Regions from separate parts of the Homo sapiens genome. Here all the other regions are linked to region 2. The links are contacts of gene promoters, found by promoter capture Hi-C in human tissues and cell types (Jung and others, 2019). All regions are on one chromosome and are shown on one strand. Each heading gives the region's core, a stretch centred on a gene start or on the middle of the fragment in contact. The rest is flanking DNA. Distances are from core to core; before and after follow the strand shown. Region 1 holds the start of SPINT4 (serine peptidase inhibitor, Kunitz type 4). Region 2 overlaps LOC107987282 (a long non-coding RNA gene). Region 3 holds the start of SYS1 (SYS1 golgi trafficking protein).

The links. Contacts are between HindIII fragments. The study calls those that stand out against the background at their distance.
Region 1: a contact is called between the fragment with the promoter of SPINT4 here and a fragment that was not itself captured in region 2, in 1 of the 25 tissues and cell types used here (liver).
Region 3: a contact is called between the fragment with the promoter of SYS1 here and a fragment that was not itself captured in region 2, in 3 of the 25 tissues and cell types used here (aorta, pancreas and thymus).

Annotation. Positions count from the first base shown.
Region 1 is chr20:45,720,918-45,724,817 of GRCh38, reverse strand. It overlaps SPINT4 (serine peptidase inhibitor, Kunitz type 4), which reads right to left and starts at 2,471. Exons shown (of 3, transcript NM_178455.3): 1 at 2,336-2,471; 2 at 761-938. The coding sequence starts at 2,450. The HindIII fragment of the contact is 7,531 bases long and covers 1-3,900 here.
Region 2 is chr20:45,488,477-45,492,544 of GRCh38, reverse strand. The region is part of intron 1 of LOC107987282 (a long non-coding RNA gene); the gene reads right to left. It also overlaps the pseudogene RPL5P2. Among named protein-coding and RNA genes, the nearest start is that of WFDC2, 21 kb to the right of the region's middle. The HindIII fragment of the contact is 6,084 bases long and covers 1-4,068 here.
Region 3 is chr20:45,361,502-45,365,261 of GRCh38, reverse strand. It overlaps SYS1 (SYS1 golgi trafficking protein), which reads right to left and starts at 2,106. Exons shown (of 4, transcript NM_033542.4): 1 at 1,947-2,106; 2 at 1,569-1,733. The coding sequence starts at 1,730. SYS1-DBNDD2 (SYS1-DBNDD2 readthrough (NMD candidate)) reads right to left here and starts at 2,093. Exons shown (of 6, transcript NR_003189.2): 1 at 1,947-2,093; 2 at 1,569-1,733. LOC124904914 (a long non-coding RNA gene) reads left to right here and starts at 1,894. Exons shown (of 2, transcript XR_007067609.1): 1 at 1,894-2,194; 2 at 2,436-2,906. RefSeq lists an enhancer at 1,937-2,376. The HindIII fragment of the contact is 13,954 bases long and covers 1-3,760 here.

The sequences.
Region 1 (3,900 bases), core at 1,222-3,721, 230 kb before region 2:
TGGTAGAGACGGGGTTTCACTGTGTTAGCCAGGATGGTCTCGATCTCCTGACCTTGTGATCCGCCCACCTCGGCCTCTCAAAGTACTGGGATTACAGGCGTGAGCCACCACGCCTGGCCCTACCTTGATATAATTTTAAATTATATCAATATATGTTAATTGCTTAGTGCAGTGCCTGACACACAGTAATTGTCCAATAGATGGTGGCTATTATTTTCTCTCTGGGCATTTGATTTCCTAACTGCAAAATGAGCAAATGATCCTGACAGCCCACCCAAATGTGGTTTTTTTTTTTTTTTTTTTTTAGATGGAGTTTTGCTCTTATTGCCCAGGCTGGAGTGCAATGGATGGCGCGATCTCGGCTCGCCGCAACCTCTGAACCCTCTGAACTTCTTGAACCCTCCCGGGTTCAAGTGATTCTCCTGCCTCAGCCTCCCGAGTAGCTGGGATTACAGGCATGCGACACTATGCCTGGCTAATTTTGTATTTTTAGTAAAGATGGGGTTTCTCCATGTTGGTCAGGCTGGTCTTGAACTCCTGACCTCAGGTGATACACCCACCTCAGCCTCCCAAAGTGCTGGGGTTACAGGCATGAGCCACTGCGCCCGGCCAACCCAACTGTTAAAACTTCTTATTTGAGCAATCCTCCCTCTTCCCACTCCAAGCAAGGTTAGCCCCTGATCAATTTTCTCTATCTTAGGATGTCAAAACCTCTTCTTTTACTACCCCCAAGGACCAAGGACAGGATTAGATTCCTTACGGTGGTTTGTATTTTGCAACACAGGCTACTTCACGTTCTATTTTAAGCTTGAAGTTGTTAAGGTTGCCATTACAGCCGGAGAAGACAAAAGTTTCACATCTTTTGGAGGTTCTGTTGTAGAAATATCTAAAGTGAACTTCATAGCAGCTTCCAAAATTCATGTCCAATTTGCAGGGATCTGCATGAGAGGTTCCCATTGAGTTAGTGGGAATTGGTAAGGACTCAGCAGGAGAACTTGTCTTTATGGGCCCTTAAAAATTCCTACGTTTAGCCTGGAACTATTCTCATATTCAAGGACTCTGAAAGATGTGGTTTTCTCTTGGAGTTAGAGTTGCTTGGAAATGTTGCCCTTGCACAATGCAAATTGGTTAAAATTCCAGGTTGTTGTCGTGAGCAGTGTATTGGAGAAGGAGAAGTAGTGATCAGTGAAAAAGGAGGTTCCACCACTAGCTTGTGCAGGGCGATGAGCTTCCCTACATTTCCTATCTTACAGTTTATTAAAGTACAGTATCCTCCTGCTTCCCCACATCATCTTCCTTTCCTTTTAATTGCCCACATAGGACATGCAATTCAGAGTGCCTCCTCCCCAGTTTCATACATTCACTATACTACCTATACTTCAAAATTTAAGTAACCATGGCTGCTGCTATCTTTAAAGCAGGATGCATACTAAAATGCTAAAATGCATAACCTTGGGGTGATGCTCGTTCATCCTCATACCCCGTCATCTTCTCCTTTCTTGCCTTCTCAGAGGCAAACCCTCTGTTTTTATTGTTAAGAGTTGGGTAGTAAGTGGTTGGAACAGCCACAATCATGGTTGTATTGACAATCCACCTTACTCAAGCAGCCAGCCTGGAATTTACTCTCTGGTAAAGTTATGTGCATAATCTTATTTCATACTCACAAACACCCTCTGCAGCAGGCACTTTTCTGATCTTCATTTTACACATGGGGAAACTGAGACTAAGAGAATAATAAGTGGTTGAGTGACTTGTCCAAGGGCACATATCTGCTAAGTGAACAGGTCCAGAACTTGAAGTGTCTGACTTACGGTATAAACTGTGCTACTTTCTCGTCCCCTGGAAGCGCTGAGCCTTCACACACTATCTATGGAAGAAAGTCTCATTGCCTCTCACATTTACATTGTGAGCTCCTCTAAACAGGAATCATCTGTCCAAGAGTTCTGTATATGTCCATAGCCCAGATACTGAAAATGTCTTAATTTGCTCTGTCTCCAACCCCCTTTCTCTCTCATCCCAATACATAATCATCAATGGTCTGGGATCTTTGAAATTTGTCACACAACCTCTGATTCAAAATACTTCCAGTCCTTTGGACCTCCTATAAAAGAGGTCTCCATCTGGAAAGGACTTTGTGTCATTTCTGTTTTTTCTCATCAAACATCCAGAGGACCCCTAGTGTAAGTAATGCCCTGAGTCAAGGGACTAAGTGTCTATGGGTATTGTCATGAAAGGAAGACCTTCCTGGACTACCTAGATAACACACTTTTCTCCCAATACCTTCTCTCTCATTCATAATTGACCTTTGGATTTATTTTCTGCCTTAGCTTCATACCTTTGAGGTCTCCACATATCTTCTCCGCAATTTTATTAACACCACCCAATAACAGGGTATTCAATGAGCAGAAGATGAAGAATCTTAGAAGAAATCCCAGCTTGGCAGACTTCATGGTGCAGCAAGCAGCAGGCAGGATAGTTGTGGTATCACCTGATGTTATATTTTGGGCTTGATACTTGAGACGGTTGAGCTCACCTACCCCAAGGGCCAGGACTGGACATTACTAGGTGTTGAGTTGAACAGTGAGTGCTTGGGTACCCAGCCATGAAGCTGAAGGCCCCAAACTGATTAGACCCTTGATAGTGAGTCCCATGTTCATCTAGAAGCAATAGAAACTTAAGGATCAGAGCTTCTGCATATATTTAATCATGAAGGGTAGAATCATCAGAGTGAGGAATTAAAAAGGGATTTCTTCCTTTCTCTTTTTGACCTTTTATGCACAGAAGAAACTAATCATGGCACAAGAGAAAGAGTGCAATAGCACTATAATAATAGTAACAGGGTTAGTTATAACCTAGAGTACTACTTAATTCCAGGTGCTATTTTTAAGTAATTTGTATATACTTTATCATCATATACACCCTATGAAGTAAGTACAGTTATTACCATCATTTAAGGATGAAATGGAGACAGAGATTAGGTTACATGTACAAGGTCACTCATTTATTATGTGGTAGAGACAAGATTTGAACTTGGCTTCAGAGTTTTTGTTCTTAGTCACACTACACTATGTTATCTAGGAACATGAGGACATCTTGGATCTGTTTTCTCCTAAAAGTTTTGAAGTTTTGGCTTACCTTTACACCCTAAAACCACCTGATGTTGATTTTTTGGTAAGGTATAACATAAGGATCCTTTTTCATTTTTCAGTGGTTCCAGACCTATTTATTAATGAGTTCCTCTTCTATTTAACTGCAAAATAATTTTGCTTAATTATGTGGGATTGCTTCTGAGCCCTTTATTTCACTCCACTGTATACCCCCACTCCAAAGCCACACTTAATCTCTTGAACTTTGTTTATCTTAGGATTTTGTATTTTCATATAAATTTTAGTCAGTTTATCAAGTTATTCAAAAGACCTGTTTCGGGCCAGGCGTGGTGGCTCATGCCTGTAATCCCAGCACTTTGGGAGGCTGAGGTGGGTGAATCCCATGAGGTCAGGAGTTGGAGACCAGCCTGGTCAACATGGCAAAACCCCGTCTCTACTAAAAATACAAAAATTAGCTGGTTATGGTGGTGAGTTCCTGTAATCTCAGCTACTTGGGAGGCTGCGGCATGAGAATTGCTTGAACTGGGAGGCAGAGGTTGTAGTGAGCTGAGACTGTGCCATTGCACTCCAGCCTGGGTGACAGAGCAAGACTCTGACCGAAAACGAAAACAAAAACAAAAACAAAAACAAAACACCTATTTTGGATATTCATTTGAATTGCACTGGATCTACAAATCAATTGGAAAAGAATGATATCCTTATAATATTGTCTTTGATATATATATTTCCATCTATTTTGACCTTCATTAATATTTTAAAGAAAGGTTTATGACATTTCTCATGCAGGTGTTAC
Region 2 (4,068 bases), core at 26-2,525:
CTCTACCCCACCCCCAGACTCACTATTCCTCTTACCTGTGTATTTCTCCATAACTTTTCCTCCACCTAACATGTTATATATGTGTTAGTTCATTTATTTATTGGCTATCCTCTCCACCGCACACACACACACACACACACACACACACACACTCTTTTCCTTCTATCAAATCCCCACCACCTAGAATAGAACACATAGTAAGTGCTTTATAAATATTGAATGAGTGAATGCCTCTGCTGATGTTGTTTCTGGGGCAGGACCTTCCCCTCCCTGACTGGTCTGTCTTTAGAACTTTATTTTCTAAGCTCCAGCTCACTCATGTAACTTCTTACTATCGCTCCAACCCCAAACCTGCACTTTCCTGCAGAGAAGATGTCTGTTTCCATGTAGGTATTACCATACATGGCTTCCTGGGCTGGGGATGGCCTTTAGAGGCATCTGCAAAGCAGTTTGCCATCGGAAATGGGAGAAAATAAGTGCGGGAAGAAGCCCTGCCCTGACGTCTGGAGGGGCAGCTGGGCTGAGTGGTTCTGTGAGGGGCCTTGAGGTTGGCTGTCCCATCTCGATCCACCTGTTTACTGGGATTCCTGGGCCCTGGGAGCTGTTCTCCTGGCCAAAACTAAGCTTTGCTGTGGTCTGCCTATATCAAGTGTGGCCCATCAAGGCCTGGAAGAGGGGGAAGAGACCAGTCTGGGACCCTGTCCTTTTTCCTTCCCCCTTTCCAATCACAAATCTTCAGAGTCCCCAACCTACAGCATTCACTTGGCTGCAAAAGTTGATCAAAGAATGATCGTAGGGCTTCCGCCTTGCCTGGCCCCCCTTGCACGCTGCAGGTCTGTGTCAAGCCATGGACACAGCTCTCTGTTCCGGAGGATGGAGTGTGTTAAAATTGTTAAGAGTAAGGCCTACTTTAAGAGATACAGATGACATTTAGAAGACCAGTGGGTTAAACTGATTACTATGCTCAGACACACTTGGTAATCCAGGATGAAAATAAGTAGAACACACCAAAATTCAGGATAGTTCATGCAACTAACAGAGAGATCATTTGTCATATGGTTTTTGCCCACACAGAAGGGAATATGATTGTCTGCACAGCATATGTTCATGAATGTCTAAAGTGTAGCATGAAGGTTGGCCAGCCAGATTATGATGCAGCACATTGTACTGGCCTGTGCTGACCCGAAGGCCCCTCAATAGTCTTGGCATGGACAACACCTATGAAGGTCAAGTGGAGGTGAGCAGAGATGGGTATCACATGGGAAGCATTGATGGTTACTTGGTGCCTTCACTTGCTACTTGCCAGAACTACCAACGGAAATAAAGGTAGGGGGGCCCTGAAGGGAGGTGTGGATTGAGGTTTTCTATCCCTCACAGTTACCAAACAATTCCCTGGTTCCAATTCAGAAAGCAGGGAGTTCAATGCAGAAGCACATCCTGGGTCAGAAGATCGCAGATTATATGCATTACCCAATGTAAGAAGATGAAGATGTTTACAAGAAACAATTTTCTCAATACATAAAGAACAACATAACTCCAGTCATGACGGAGAGACATGTAAGAAAGCTCATGATGCTGAACAAGAGAATCCAGTTCACGAGAGGAAGCCTGGGGAAGAAGTTAAGAAAAGGTGGAACCATCCCAAGACGTCCCCTGTCCAGAAGAAAGACTGAGTAGCTCAGAAGGCAAGTTTTCTAAGAGCTCAGGAGCAGGCTGCTGAGCGCTAAGCCAAACAACTATTTTCTTGTCTTTTCTTTTTCCTTTTTCTTTTTTTTTTTCAGAGACAGAGTCTCGCTCTGTCACCCAAGTCAGAGTGCAGTGGCACAATCATAGCTCACTGTAGCCTCCAACTCCTGGGCTCAAGCAATCCTCCCCCACTTGGCCTTCCAAGTACTTAGGAATATAGGCACGTTCCACCACGTCTGGCAAATAGTCATTTTCTATAAGATTATTCAGATAAAAACAATAAACTTATTGACCAAGCAGCTTAAAAAAGAAAATTAAAGGAAGGGTCTCAGCCAGAGGTTCTGCCTCGTCTAACCCACCCCTGCTTTCTTACCTGCCCCATCCCACCTCTCAGTCCTCCTTCCCTGGTAGCTTCTTCCTGTGCATTACTGAGATCCCTGGCAACTTCCACCTCATCTTCTGCAGGAGGCCTCTGGGCTAGGGACCCCTTGAAAAAGCTTTACCCCCTCTTAAGCTTCTGGTGGAGGGCCTGAGGTCCCATCTCCTTTGGACCCCTGCTCAGGGTCCCCTGTGCAGTCTTCTTACTCAGTAAAACCTCAACTGCCAGGTCTGACTTTTCACCATTAGCATTTTATTTCTTGAGTTAAATCAGGGGTAGCAAATCTATCTATCAACCCCAATCAATGGGCAGCTGTAGCAGCTGCCTGGAGCCCTGTGCTGAGGGCTCTGTGGCCACACATGGGCTAATGGAAAGGAGCAGCAATCATGTGATATGGGTGCTGGTGGAAGAAATGATGGCATGTGGACACCTTTGCCATCCCTGGGTTAGACATCACCCTGCCTGGGCCACTCTTTCAGAATGCAAACCTGTAGAAGGACAGGAGAAAGTGGAGCTAGTGGTAGTCACACACCGAGTTCCCAGCAACTCTTCCCAACCCATCACTGGATGCCTCTGTTTCTGCCTAAAAGGTTGGGGAGCCCCGAGCATGGACAAAAATAGAAATCAGAAAGTGGGGAGCTGGGAAAATCTACACTGCCATCTCTGGCCAAGGGGCTATCATATGCACAAAGCATCCCCACTCCCACCAGGAGGCTCTATCAGTTTGTGCCCCTGGGAGTGAATGGAGATGCCCTGGGGCCTTGTCTGGTCCCTGGTCCCTGGTCCCACAAGAAGATGAGGAAGATAAAGCCTGATAGACACCAAGCCAGGCTGGCCAGATATTCCAGACAATGTCACTGAAACTTTCCAGATCTCTCATGTTCCACGGTGGGTAGAGAAGGGAAGGACATGAAGGCTGTTCCTGGGGGGCCAGAGTCACTGACATTACTCCCTTATTCTCCTTCTCCCTCACCCCAAAGGATAAGCATACACCCCAGGATTAAAGTAAGAAATCATTGTGTCAGAGGCCTTCCAACCAGAGTGACTCCATCTTGAATAGGGGCTGGATAAAATAAGGGTGAGACCTGCTTGGCTACATTCCCAGAGGGTTAGGCATTCTTAGTCACAGGATGAGATAGGAGGTTGGCACAAGATACAGGTCACAGACCCTGCTAATAAATCAGGATGTGGTAAAGAACCCAGCCGAAACCCACTGAAACCAAGATGGCAATGAAAGTGACCTCTGGTCATCCTCAATGCTTATTCTATGCTAATCATAATGCATTAGCATGCTAAAAGACACTCCTATCAGTGCCATGACAATTTACAAACACCATGGCAACACTCAGAAGTTATCCTATATAGACTAAAAAGGGGAGGGATCCTCAGTTCTGGGAAATCTCTTCCCCTCTCCATGAAAACTCATGAATAATCCACCCGTTTTAGCATATAATCAAGAAATAACCATAAAAATCTTGAACCAGCAACCCTTGGGGCTGCTCTGCCCATGGAGTAGCCACTCTTTTTCCCTTTCCTTTACTTTCTTAATAAACTTGCTTTCTCACTTTACTCTACGGACTTGCTTTGATTTCTTTCTTGTGTGAGATCTGAGAACCCTCTCTTGGGGTCTGGATCCGGACTCCTTTCTGGTAACATCTTCCTGGCCACCATGAAGCGACTATACTGAAGAGACTTCTGACCCAAAGAAAAAGACTGCAGCACCAATTGGCCAACTCTGGATATGTGGTGGGGTACGTTTTACCTGGGTAAAGGATGGGATTGGGTTAGAAGCCCAACTTAGGAGAGTTAGAGTCCCTCCTAAGACAAAGAGGCTTAAAGGCCCCTGTTAATAAAAAGCAACGACGCTTGACCAAACCTGGGTTAAAGGCTTAACTTAGAAAAATTAGAGTCCCTTCTAAGCCATAGGGGGTGGCTGGGCGCGGTGGCTCATGCCTGTAATCCCAGCACTTTGGGAGGCCGAGGCGGGTGGATCACCTGAGGTC
Region 3 (3,760 bases), core at 857-3,356, 130 kb after region 2:
AACACAGCCACACCTATTCACTTATATATTTGTCTATAGCAGCCTTCTGTGCTACAATGGCAGAGCTGAATAATTGTGACCTAAAATCCTTACTACTTCACCCTTAAAGGAAAGGTTTGCTGATCCCTAGGCTAGAACTCAGGTTGTGTGCATCATATGGCTCTTCAACAAAGCCTGGCATTCCCACAGCTCTTCCCAGGAGCATAGAGTCTCCTACGAGACTACAACTAGGCATATGGTGGGTGTGCAACCTCCACTATCCAACACAATACTATCAAATGCCAAACATCTGCACCACACTTTCAGCTGACAAAGAAAGGTCTTTGACATACATAATCTCATATTATCCCTAAAAAAACCTCACAAAGCCATTCTTCTTCTTTTAATTCTTATCACTTTTTGGATAATAACTTGCCCAAGGGCTAACACAGAGAACAAGCAGCAGGAGCAAGGACTCCATCCCAGGTCTCCTGGCTTTAAGAACTGTGCTCGGCCGGGCGCGGTGGCTCACGCCTGTAATCCCAGCACTTTGGGAGGCCGAGGCAGGCGGATCACGAGGTCAGGAGATCGAGACCATCCCGGCTAAAACGGTGAAACCCCGTCTCTACTAAAAATACAAAAAATTAGCCGGGCGTAGTGGCGGGCGCCTGTAGTCCCAGCTACTTGGGAGGCTGAGGCAGGAGAATGGCGTGAACCCGGGAGGCGGAGCTTGCAGTGAGCCGAGATCCTGCCACTGCACTCCAGCCTGGGCGACAGAGGGAGACTCCGTCTCAAAAAAAAAAAAAAAAAAAAAAAAGAACTGTGCTCATCACCACGCCACAGCTGCCTCTTAGATGTAACAACTTATAGGCCTCCTTTACACTTTACAAAGTACCTTCTTATTCCTAAACCCCTCTGGGCCTTGTAACATTTTGTTGAGGGCAACATGGTAGGAGCATCCGGCCCACTTTTCAGAAAAGGCTCAGAAAGGGGAAGCAACTTGCCCAAGGTCCCACAGCTAGTTTTATATGTTTAGGCCTAGACTGAACCCTTGCTTTTCTGAACCCAAAGCACATGCTCTTTATATTGCAGTCCACGACCTCTCTGCAACTAGTCTCATGGTTTTGAAGACAGGAAAACAAGTTCACAGAGGTGACATTTGCCCCAGGTCACACAGCTAGTAAGTGGATCTTAAACGGACGCCTGTCTGACCCCAAAGTCCAGGCAGTTTCCACTGTACCCGCACGAATGCTCTTTTATCCACCCCTCTCTCCGATGTGGCACCTGAGAACCTAGCTCAGAGAAATCAAGTCACTTTCCCAGAGTATCAGAAAGGAAATGTATCAGAGTTGCCTGGAACACAGACGTGTTTATTGTATTAACATCCAGGCCCTTTTCTTTGTACTAATCAGCCTCTGCTGTCATTCCATTTTATGGATGAGGCAGCTGAGGCTCAGAAAGGTGAAATCCCTTTCCCAGGGCTACAAAGAAAGAAGGTGACCCAGCCACGTCTACAGCACAGTAGTGATGGACCACAAAGCCTACTCGGGGAGGCCGAGACCCCACCCGCCCCAGTCCGGGGACCCTACCTCGGCGTCGAACATCTGGTCCAGCGAGGGGCTGCTTCGCACTAGCCCGTCCACCAGCGCCAGCCACAGGCCCAGCGAGCCGTAATACACGGTCTGCATGAGGACGATCTGCGACAGGATCAGCAGCGGGTCCCACACGTAGCTGCGGAACTGACCCGCCATGCCCTGCAGGGACACGAGCCGGGCCTCAGCCAGCGGCCTGTCTCCATGGCAACGTCGCCCCGCCCGGGAGGAGGGACTGGAACCAAGGGGTGAGCCCATTCCAAGAGTCAGGGGGAAGGCGGGGCAGACAGACCCATTCTCAGAGTGAGGGGAAATCCAGCCCATTCCGCCTGCGCGGCCCCCGCCCGTACACGAGCTCCTCTGGGGTCTACTCACCAGTGACAGACTCGACGATCGAAGTGTCTGAGCGTGGCCCGGCCTCACCGGCGGGCTCCCAAAACAGCGCTGACAGACAGGACCATGGAGGAGAGGCGCTGCCGGCCTAGAGAGGCAAAGCTCCAGCGACCACGGCGGCAGGAGCGGCTGCGTAGGAAAGAAACGTTTCCGGGGAAAGCAGCGGAGGGGCGGGGCTGAGGTTGCGCAGGCGTAGTGGGTGCAACCTCTGCCTGAACCTCCTGAACCAGGTACAAGCAGCCGGATAGCGAACTGAGCACATGCGCAGAAGGAAGAGTGAAGGCAAACGGAAGAGAGGAACGAAGGCCGCAGAGCTTGCGCGCCCTCTAGAGGGGAATTCTTTTTTTAAAGGAAGGCGGCTAGGGGAGAGGCAAGTGGGGTGGCTTAGGACGCGGTAATGATGTTTGGGAATTAACGAGGTGATAAACTGTGTCGTTATTTTCAGCCTAAATTCTCAATGTTTTCTCCTAGTTAGAGTCTGATAACTTGAAGTGGACCTGCAAGCTCCTCCACGTAGGAGTTTGCCAATGTTCCCGCTGTACAGATAGTTAAGCTAAGGGCCAGAGAAGGAAAGCAACATACTGTTTCAACGACACAGTTAGTAGCAAAGTAAGTATTAAAATTCAAGTGTTGGTCGGGCGCGGTGGCTCACGCCTGTAATCCCAGCACTTTGGGAGGCTGAGGTGGGCGGATTACCTGAGGTCGGTGTTTCGAGACCAGCCTGACCAACATGGAGAAACCCCGTCTCTGCTAAAAATACAAAATTAGCGGGGCGTGGTGGCGCACGCCTGTAGTCCTAGCTACTCGGGAGGCTGAGCCAGGAGAATTGCTTGAACCCGGGAGGCAGAGGTTGCAGTGAGCCGAGATCACGCCATTGCACTCCAGCCTGGGCAACAAGAGCAAAACTCCGTCTCTAAATAAATAAATAAATAAATAAATAAATAAATAAAATTCAAGTGTTTCCTCAACACTACAACATTGATTTCGCACCTACTCGGTGGCAGGAAGGCTAGAACATGTATATATAAGACAGCCCCTGCCCTGAGACACAGATGAACTATATTAGAAGGCAGAGTAGTGGGTGTTTTAAAATGTGGGTGTCCAGTGGAAAAAGGCACAGGTTCTGAAGTCGCACATAGGAGTAAATCCTGACCCTCTCTGCTGCCATGACTGTTTTATCTATCTTCCAAATCCGAATAGTGGACAGTCAGTAAATATTTGCTGAATGAGTTAAGAACAGAAAAAGCAAGAGCAAATCGATAACTCACTTATTCCTACTCCAGCAGACGAAAACCCATCAACTTCATTGATCCTAGGTTCCCCCTCTCTGAAGTGGAAAGACGGGAAGTAAGTTGTTCCAGGAAAAGAATTTGGGTTTTAGGGCCAGCTATGCCACCCAGTGTGACCAGCAAGCCACTTCCTTCTTTAAACCTCAGCTTCCCTGTTTATGAAATGAGGAGTTGGACATGATTAACGTTTTCCACCATTTAATCTACCTTCCAGTAATTATTTTCTCATTAAAAAAAAAACTTAGGCTGGGCACAGTGGCTCATGCCTGTAATCCCAGCACTTTGGGAGGCTGAGGCGGGCAGATCACAAGGTCAGGAGTTCAAGACCATCCTGGCTAACATGGTGAAACCCCATCTCTATTAAAAATACAGAAAATTAGCCGGGCCTGGTGGCAGGCGCATGTAGTCCCAGCTACTCGGGAGGCTGAGACAGGAGAATGGCGTGAACCTGGGAGGCGAAGCTTGCAGTGAGCCGAGATTGCGCCACTGCAGTCCAGCCTGGGCGAC